2 separate regions of the Homo sapiens genome follow, and region 1 is linked to region 2. The links are contacts of gene promoters, found by promoter capture Hi-C in human tissues and cell types (Jung and others, 2019). All regions are on one chromosome and are shown on one strand. Each heading gives the region's core, a stretch centred on a gene start or on the middle of the fragment in contact. The rest is flanking DNA. Distances are from core to core; before and after follow the strand shown.

Evidence for each region. Contacts are between HindIII fragments. The study calls those that stand out against the background at their distance.
Region 1: a contact is called between a fragment that was not itself captured here and the fragment with the promoter of SPAG17 in region 2, in 2 of the 25 tissues and cell types used here (dorsolateral prefrontal cortex and stomach).

Annotation. Positions count from the first base shown.
Region 1 is chr1:118,978,234-118,982,837 of GRCh38, forward strand. The region is part of intron 1 of TBX15 (T-box transcription factor 15); the gene reads right to left. Among named protein-coding and RNA genes, the nearest start is that of TBX15, 7.8 kb to the right of the region's middle. The HindIII fragment of the contact is 6,637 bases long and covers 1-4,604 here.
Region 2 is chr1:118,181,876-118,186,804 of GRCh38, forward strand. SPAG17 (sperm associated antigen 17) reads right to left here and starts at 3,353. Exons shown (of 49, transcript NM_206996.4): 1 at 3,196-3,353. The coding sequence starts at 3,282. LOC105378930 (a long non-coding RNA gene) reads left to right here and starts at 3,355. Exons shown (of 4, transcript XR_947746.3): 1 at 3,355-3,938; 2 at 4,280-4,406. The HindIII fragment of the contact is 16,923 bases long and covers 1-4,929 here.

The sequences.
Region 1 (4,604 bases), core at 94-2,593, 790 kb after region 2:
ATCTCTCTCTTTTATTTTTATTTTTTGGTCTTGTGTTGCTATTGCTGTTAATTTCTACAACTGCAGTAAAATTCCTTCGTTCCAACAAAGTAAGGATGGGTCAAGTGATGACCAAAGTACTTTAGGAGAAAATGTTAATATTTCAAAAAGCAAAACCAAAGTTAGGATCACAGAATCTCGTAGCTAAAGGGGCCTCAGAAGTCATTTGAGCCTTGTCTCCCTCACTTCACAAATGAGGCACTGAGGCCTCATCAGTGGCTATAAAACAATTTTGAAACTTTTTTTCAACATTAATATGTCTGGTTTTAAAACAAATATCCCTGGTTCCAACATCAATTTCAAAGCTAGCACTAGAATCTAGGACTCCTAACTTAAGCTCCTTCAGCCCTCTTTCTACCATAAAAATATGGATATAATACAGAACATGAAGGTCTGTGTTGAAAGCTTTGCAGGAGAGTGAAGACATATATATCCACATAAGTAAGTAAAGTTTCTGATATATTTTACAATTCAGTATTCCTTTGCAAGTTTGTTTATACCTTTAATTTTTTAACTAAATCCTTCTTTCTAAATAGTACGTATAGCCCCTCCCACCCTTTGATGCCAAAAAATATCAAATTATTAATTAACCTTCTAAATTGAGAAAACATTTCTGAACCCAGGGAAGGCACTGCTGTGTTCACAATCTCTTGTTGGCTCAAATGTTTGCCCCTCCCCACTGTGAAAATCAGTTATTTATTTTTCAGGAGCAAGAGTGGAAGAACTAAACCACCCGAGGCACCTAGCCCCTAGGTTTACAATTCGGAGCCCTGTATCCTGGAGAGATTAAAGCTTTGGAGCAAGGATGCATCGGGACAGGACTTCCCTCCAAAGGGAAGCCATTCCCGCCGGGTTCTTAAAAGAACGCAGTTATTTCAGCTACTAGTAGTCACTTCTCACTCTGCTTTTACACTTGGTTGGTTTCTTTTTCTTTCTTTTTTTTTAATAAAAGAATTCGTTCATTGTTTTTTAATCCCCAAGAGCAGCGGGAAGGACAATCATTTGCTTTTCTTTGTCTCGGTGGGCAATGCCCGCTTTCTGGGCGTCAGCGTCCCTGCCTCTTAGGCACCCAGGGATCCTCCACGTCACGATCCCACAGGATGACTTTCCTTTTTAACAGACTAGCTACGATATATACTGACCCTAGATTTACCCATTTGGAAATGGTTAGGGATTAAAAGTTCTTCAAGCCAGCGGATTCTTGGTTTCTAATTGCTAATGTTTGAAGTCAGTTTGATTCCTCGGAAATTTGTTCTGCCTGATGAAAGCAAAAGCTCGAACTCCCCTCAGGGCGCGAGGTGTGAGACCCTTGGGTTCCATTTGCATTTCTGGTTTGTCGTTGGCGGGTTCCTGATTTGTTTTTGTTTTGTTTTGGTCTGTTCTGTTTTTTGGGGGGTGTCTTTCACCAGGGCCTTCCCGGTTAGCCCAGGGTCCCCACATTTCTCCAGGATGTAATTAGAGCTAAGAACAGCCGCCATCCCTCAGGGTTCCGGGTCCCGGGTTTCCAGGGTCCCGGGTTTCCAAGGCCCCGCGATAACCCCGGGCGCACGCGGCGCGATGCGGCGAGGCGAGGCGAGGCGGTGGGGCCAGCGCGGAGCCCCAGGCGCGAGAACAGGAACTCGGGCTGGCACACCGAGGCCTCGCAGCCAAGCCGCGCCTGACCCGTTCGCCGTTCCGGCCCCGCGGCGCCTCCAAGGCCGGGCCGAGGGGCCGAGGGGCCGAGGGCGGGCAGACGCGGCCACGGCCTAATTCTGACTTCTGAAGGTCACCGAAACTGCGCTGTTTTTCCAGAGATGGGTTGAAGAGAAGAGATGCAATCCCAGTTCCTTCTGCGGCGAAACGGGATCTGAAATTCTTGGAGAGGGGGAAGAATTGGACGTTTTCATCGTGCGTGGAGGAAAATTGGGGGAGGGGAAGTGAGTGGCAAGTAAGGGGGTTAACTGCTTCCCGGACCCTATCCGGAGTTTAAACTACACGCTCCCAGCTGTGGGATAGTAAAGAGAACGCAGCGGTGAGGGGATTCGGAAAATCGGTTCATCCAGTTGACAACTAAAAGCTAAAAAAACTCCAAGGCTCCGGGCTAGGTCTATAATAATGACCTCTCTAATGTTCCCTTTCCAAGGGAACTCTACTCGTCATCTGTAGTGGGTGGTTTGTGTTTTTGTTTTTTAATCCTCTAAAGTGTATGGCAACATTTTGGAAACTGTCAGCTCATTTGAGCCTTGGCAACTATATTGTAGAAAATGTAAGAAGACAAATAAGAGGACGTTTTTACATGCATTTCTTACGTTCTTAAATTAATTTCCCCAAATCACGATGTTTCTCTAGTTATTTCTATAAGCCATTTTTATTATTAAGATTTATCTTAGTTATTCCGTTTACTTTCTACATGGAAGAACATGAAACCACTTTTTAGAATAAAAAGTAGCATTCTGCCCATCCAAAATTAATACAAATTACAAAATTAAATGCCAAATTTAGTTGGAAAAGTTTCCACTCCTCCTGTTCTTTTAAATAGCATCTGTACAGTCTCAATTTCTGGTATTTTGACTGGTGCTTTTTTTTTTCCTTCTTTTTTGAGACGGAGTCTTGCTCTGTCACCCAGGTTGGAGTGCAGTGGCACTATCTCGGCTCATTGCAACCTCCGCCTCCCTGGTTCAAGCGATTCTCCTGCCTCAGCCTCCCAAGTAGCTGGGATTACAGGCCCGCACCACCACACCTGGCTAAAATTTGTATTTTTAGTAGAGATGGGGTTTCACCATCTTGGCCAGGCTGGTCTTGAACTCCTGACCTCGTGATCCCCGCCCCCCGCCTCGGCCTCCCAAAGTGCTGGGGTTACAGGCATGAGCCTGGCCTTGACTGGTACTTCTGACTTTGGTCACAGTCATCAGTTTATTTACAAGTTAAATGAAAATGCCCATTACCTGGAAGTTTCAAAACTGGGATGCTTTAGAATCGTCCCATGATACCTAGGGGTGACAAAACTTTTGGCCTCCCAAATTTTATACATTCCCAATTTGTTAAACTAGCTACACACACACACACACACACACACACACACACACACAATGGCAGTTTCTTGTCCCAAATTTTGTCTACATCCAATTCAGAACTGATATTTTGATGTAGATATAGTGTTCTGGTGATATTATGGTGTTCACACATAAGTTTGTGTATAAGCACATACATTTGTGAACATATGTTTTATACACTTATCTATAAAATAAATAAAACACTAGCTAATATTAAAAGTATAAAATGAAAAGTAGTCATTTGCAAGGCCTGTTTTCACTTCTGGTATCAAAAGCTCATCATCAGTTTTGCAGTCAGCAAGATATCCTGCCTAAAAGTGAAGCCATTAGTGGCACTGAAGAAATGTTGATTGGTCCTCACCAGTTTCTTGAATTCCCCTTTTCCCATTTCACAGCGGGTCCTCCCTACTAAATCATATTTTCCACCTCTGACACTTAGAGCAAGGGCCTCACTTAAATTAACTAATGATTATCCTTCCCCCAAAGAAGTGTAAACAGGACCCTAATTTATAAATTTGCTAATTGCTGTTCCCAGTGCAGACCCCTGAGTATGTCAGTCATGCACATATAAAATTCCAGACTTACTAGAAACCAGGAAAAGCAAAGCAAAAATAAACTACACGGATGAGAAAGAGTAAGGAAAAGAGATTCCACATTCCACCAGTTCCTTAGTTTTCCCTTTTGTGAAAAGTATCTCAAAAGGTCAAAACATAAAGCTCAGATGGGAAAATCATTTAAGTATTTTCTCCTATTGAACAACTTTATCTTTTGAGAGTAAGAAAGCAATAACCAGCTGCACTCCCAGAATAATAATCGAATGGAGTCCTGTTTCCAGAAAGGAGAAAGGTATATAGCATGCCAATCTGCCCTTTATCCCTGTGGAATTTGTACAGTTCGGCCTTGCTTTAAAAAACAAAAAACAAAGAAAAAATTATAGCCACCCTGAGAAGGAATTCACAGATTTAAGAGGTAATTGTTTTTCTCCCGGGTGTGAGAAATAAAGTTCTACCAGAGTCTATAATCAGGATCTCAAAGCGATCCTCTCATCTTATAATTTTTTTGGCAATAGAACGATTGTGATGGACCGGAAATATTTCACTCAATAATAGCATTGCATGCCCTAAGAGAGGACTGGATGAACACAATGTTTAGGCCTTCTAAGCCAAAATGTAGTTGTCCCTTTCTCCTTGTGGCCTAATATGAGGGTTAATGACGAGGAACTCGTTTCCATGTTTACACTCATGAAGCACATTATACAGATAAATGGGGAACACAAAACACAATACCCAGTATTTTTAGTTTTGGTCCCCAGTTTAGGCATTGCATGCCATTCTTCACTCCTCACATGCTGTCTATATTAAAAGATTTTAAACAAATTTTCTTTCATAATTAAAAGATTTTTAACCATTTGAAGTCATTGGTATGGGAGGTGTCAGAAAAATGGCAGACGATTTGTGTCAGCATCATTTCAGTCTGAACTCCTGTTTAAGAAATTTAATTCTCCCTTCCTCCCTGCATGAAGGTTGCCCCCAT
Region 2 (4,929 bases), core at 2,103-4,602:
AAGCCCGAGGTGGAAGGATTGCTTGAGTCCAGGAGTTTGAGATCAGCCTGGGCCACACAGACCCCGTCTCAAAACAAAATTAAATACAGAATTATCATATGATCCAGCAATTCTACTTCTGTACACATACCCAAATGATTTTAAAGCAGAGACTCCAACAGATTTTAGCACACCCACAGCCAAGAGGTGAAAGCAACCCAAGTGCCCATCAATGAATGAATGAATAAATAAAATGTAAAAAGTAAGGAAATTCTGAGACATGTTACAATATGAATGAACCTTGAAGACATTATGTTAAGTAAAAATAAGAGTCACAAAAAGACAAATACTACATGATTCCACTTACATGAAGTACCTAAAGTAGTCAAATTTGGAGAGAAAGAAAGTACAATGGCAGCTTCCAGGGGGTGAGGAGAGGGAAGGATGGGGAATTAATATTGTTTAAATAGTACCGAGTGCTAAGGTTAACACTTCTTCCTATCACTGTGGCCAATAGAGCCTGCCTTGACCATTGCATGGAAAGATTTTAATCTCTATGATACCAAGGCATCTTTGACTTTCTAATGCTGCTAGAGATCATAAATATAATGTCTATGTCACATACATACTAACACAAAAGGGTATTTTTATCTTATTGCCAATGTACCTATTTTCTTTTTATATAATTTGAGATGTGATATTTCACTCATATCAGTAAGTTAAATATTTTGGTATATGGATAGCAAAGATAGTAAATGACCATTTCCTTGACGGAATTAATTTAGGAGCAACGTAGACCCAGAAGTGGTCTAACGTACATTTTTCTCCCAATCTAAATGTATCAGATTTACTTGGTGCACATATTAGTCTCCCTACTTAAAATAATCATGCTTCTTCATTCTACCTGTTCAAATTCCACCCATTATTTAGAGCCCAGGTGAAGGCAAATATTTTACAAATCATTTCCTGACTATCCCAGCCCATATTCATCTTCCTAACCTCTAGTCTCTATTTAATCATTTAGTGCTTAGTGATAGAATGCTTTGTATTATTTGCTATCATTTTATATTTTAAAACCAACTAAAATGTATGAAACAACTGATAATTATTCCAGCCTGAAAGGACAACCTGAGACAGTGATACAAGGTAAATTCAATAAAACCAAAATGTGAACTTGTTTATTCTCTTTAAAGCCTACCCAACATGAACATGAGTTCAAAAATACTATTGATTTGGGTTATCCAATGAGTTACTTCTAAAAACTTGTTTATGGAAGACTGGAGGAATTCTTTCCTTCTCTCTCACCCCCAGCACACACACATAATACAACACATAAACTAGCACACACACTCAACCACACATACTTGGACATGAGTAACAAGTGTATGGAAAGAAACTCTCTGGATACTAAAACAATAGAGCACACTACGTGTGCTCAAAATTCACACACCCACAGTCATCTATAACCTAAATTCAGAGTCCGTTTCATTGGTGGTTAGGGCACGCCTCTGGGCATTGAACTGCTGGGTTAATCTGGGAATTATTCTTTTAGATCAGACATGAAATCAAGCAGAGAAAAATGAGAGAGGAGGTGGAGGGTAGTTGTCTTTTTCCTGCAATAAGAAAATGTGTATTCCAACAAACTGAAGAAAATTGAGTTCACTGTTTATAGTTAAAACTACATATTACTTTGAGTTCAAATTCTTTCTATTAATACATAAGATTTATTGAAGTTATATTGTTTGAGTAGGATCAAGAAAGCTGAATATTATTTCAGGTTTTCAAGCCATAAGGACAAATAGTGCCTTTAGGTTTTCCATTCAACTAGGAAAATTATAGCTTCATATTTGCAACACTAAAGCTAATGCAGTGTCAGCACCTCCATCAAACTCCGTTGTTCAGCAGTTTATAATTCAAGCAGAAATGTTCACTCCAAGACCAAACTTGGCCTACACAATCTCAAAGAAAATGGAGAAAAAATTATTTTGGCTAGCGCTGACTTATAAAAGCAAAAGAGAGGGTGCTTTTACAAAGTGCTTTGAAAAACATCTTTGAGAATTTGAGAATGTAACTGGGGATTACTGAGTTGACATCCAGCATTACTAAAGTTATAGAAAGGACCCAAAATTCCATGACATCACATCAGCATCAGGAGTATCACAACTACTTTCATGAAATTCTTCATCAGGACTAATTTCCTTATCAAACAGAATTACTGTTAATAGGAAAAAAAAACAGTTATAGTGGAAAATAAAGACAGGTAAAAATTTCTCATGAAGGCAACACAAGACTTTAGATCCATTTTCCCTTTAAGTACTGACTCTCTAGTGCACCATACAGACATATATAAAATGAAAAAAAAATTTTTTTTCCCCACTTTTCAAAGTAGTTCATAATGGCGGGCTGGAATTTCCAGAAACAACTTTTCTCTTCCCAAATGCTAACTTGTACGTAGAAACAGCTTAATGTAGAAGGGGATTTCCAGCTGCAGGTGACAAGAGCTATTGGGCTCCTCATTTACTGAAGCTGGGTGGGGAGCCAGTGAATTCTGGGATCTCATGCACTTTGAAGTCCTGTGGTAGGTGGTTTGTAGATTGCCTGGTGCCTTTGTGGCATTCTGTGGGTAAGTTGGCCGCCAACCCCTCATTGCTCTGATCTCCCACACCTTAAAAATATGTCAAAACTTTAATATAGTGGGATCAGGGCATTACATTAAAAAATCATCTTTTCCTATCTATACAAGGCTCGCTTGTACTAAATACAGTGTAATTCTAGGCACTCCGTGTCTGTTTTCACTCAGCATTTATTAAAGCCCTATTATGGGCCAGGCCACAGATGATTTGATGCGATTCTCATCCTTTAGAAGGTTTCAGGAGAAAACAAAAAGTCCATAAAAGGAATTCCAGTACAATTGTGGAGTGCCATCTGGACGACTTCACTGAAAAGGTTCTGGAGGTGTCAGAGCGACACCTCCTCTCTTCCCCACTAGGCAGTTCTCACCAACCTTTGAAATCACACTGACTCACCTGGTGGGTGTTCCCTTAAGTTCCGTTCGTTTATCAAGCACTTCCTGTCCCTGGGACCCTGGGTCCTGGAACCATCAGGCCACGGAGAGATACGGAAGAGAGGGCGAGCCTTAAGGCGTCGCCTAGGAGGGTCTGGCCGGGCCTCTGGCATTGCCGGGGGCAGGGAGGGCTTAAAGGGCTCAAGGCTCACCTGATTGAACTGTGCAGCTATGAGCGAGGGTTCCCATATCTTAGAACTGGTGTTCACAGTTCCTCCTTTCTCCTTCTTGGGTGCCATGCAAAGGACGGGAGAAGCATTGGCCTCTAAACTGGGCGCAGGCCCTGCCTAAGCGTCCCCGCTACCACAGTAACCGAAGCCACGCCCAGTTCCTGAACCACGTCGGCTCCCCTCCCCCAACACCGTTCGGAATCCTTGGGTCAACCGCCTCCGTCTCCACAGCAACGGAGTTTCAGAGCGCGCGGCAGCTTGGGGGCGGGGTTCCCAGTCCCCCGGTCAAATTTTAGGACTTTTCAGCAGGAAAGCTGCACAACTGGAGGAGGGCAGGACGAGGCTGGCCTCGCAGGTCGGGCTACGTTCTTCTACGGTCTGAGGCGTTGTCTAGAAACTCAAAATCTCTGGAATCCCATCCAGGACTCCTCCATCAAGATTTCTTCCGATCCTGAGTAACCAAGATTGGAATACTGACCCCTTCAGGAGGCAGCCCATGCCGTTTTTTCCCAACCGCTCTAATCTGCCCCAAATGCTTCCTTATATGAATCCAAATTTGTCTCTCCTTGACCTCTACCCTCTGCACTGTTTCAGCCTCCGCCTCTGGGGCCTTACTAAACAAGTCCAATCACCCTTCCACGTGACCCCTTATCTAACTGTAGGTGGGATTAATGTACTTATCTGCCCAAACAGCTCCAGTCCTTTAAACTGCCTTTTATTGATTGGTAAGTAGACTTTTTTTTCCCCTTTTTTCCCACCCTGCACTCATCAATATCTAAAATATCCTGGTTGGACAAGTTTCCCAAAATAATGATAGTAATAAAAACCATTGTTTCTTGGGCACTGGTTATATGCTATATACAAGATTATTTCATTTAATTCTCACAACCACCTTATCCAATTCCCACAGTGTCTGATTGATGGTGCCAGGATTAGATCCCAGGATTATCTGAGTCACAGATCTAGTGTGCATAACTGCTACACTGCTGTCTACTACTGTTTTAGGCCTGCCAAAATGAGGGATACCCCCTTCTGGAGCTAGATTTACTTTTGTTTTTTATTGCAGTGAGACAAATTTGAGGACACCCTGGGGCAGAGCGCAACCAAAGGTGCCTTGCGGTCTCATTAGTCATATGGAATTCAGCACTGACCAGGGCTTAACTAGCCATTAAGGCCCTGCACTTTGCCTAGAGGTGAGATGCTTCAGTTATCCCAGTGGCCCAGATGAGTGAGGTGATGCAAGCCAGAAACTTAATTTCCCTGGGCACAACCTGATGAACGGGTGACCTTCCACGGGGGATGTTCTAAACCTTTTAATTGCTAACCCTTTTAATTTCTTTGAGGAATAAATTGAGGGAAGGAGGATAGTGCTATCCAGCCACTAGCATCCTTTTTCATTTGGGGGCAAATTTTAATGATGATGCTTCAACTTTTGTTCGTAATTTGGACCATGAAAGGAAGTTTATCTTTCCACCCTAATTCTTTAATATAGTTAGAGTGAGCCCTCCCATCATCACAGTTCTTCATCCCTGGATTTAACCAACTTTGGATCCAAAATATTAAAACATAAATAAATATACAAATAAAAATACAGCATAACAACTATTTTACAGCATTTACATAATATTAGATATTATAAATAATCTAGATATGATTTAAAGTGTAGGAGAGGATGTGCGTAGGTTATGTGCAAATACTAGGCCATTTTATTGAGAG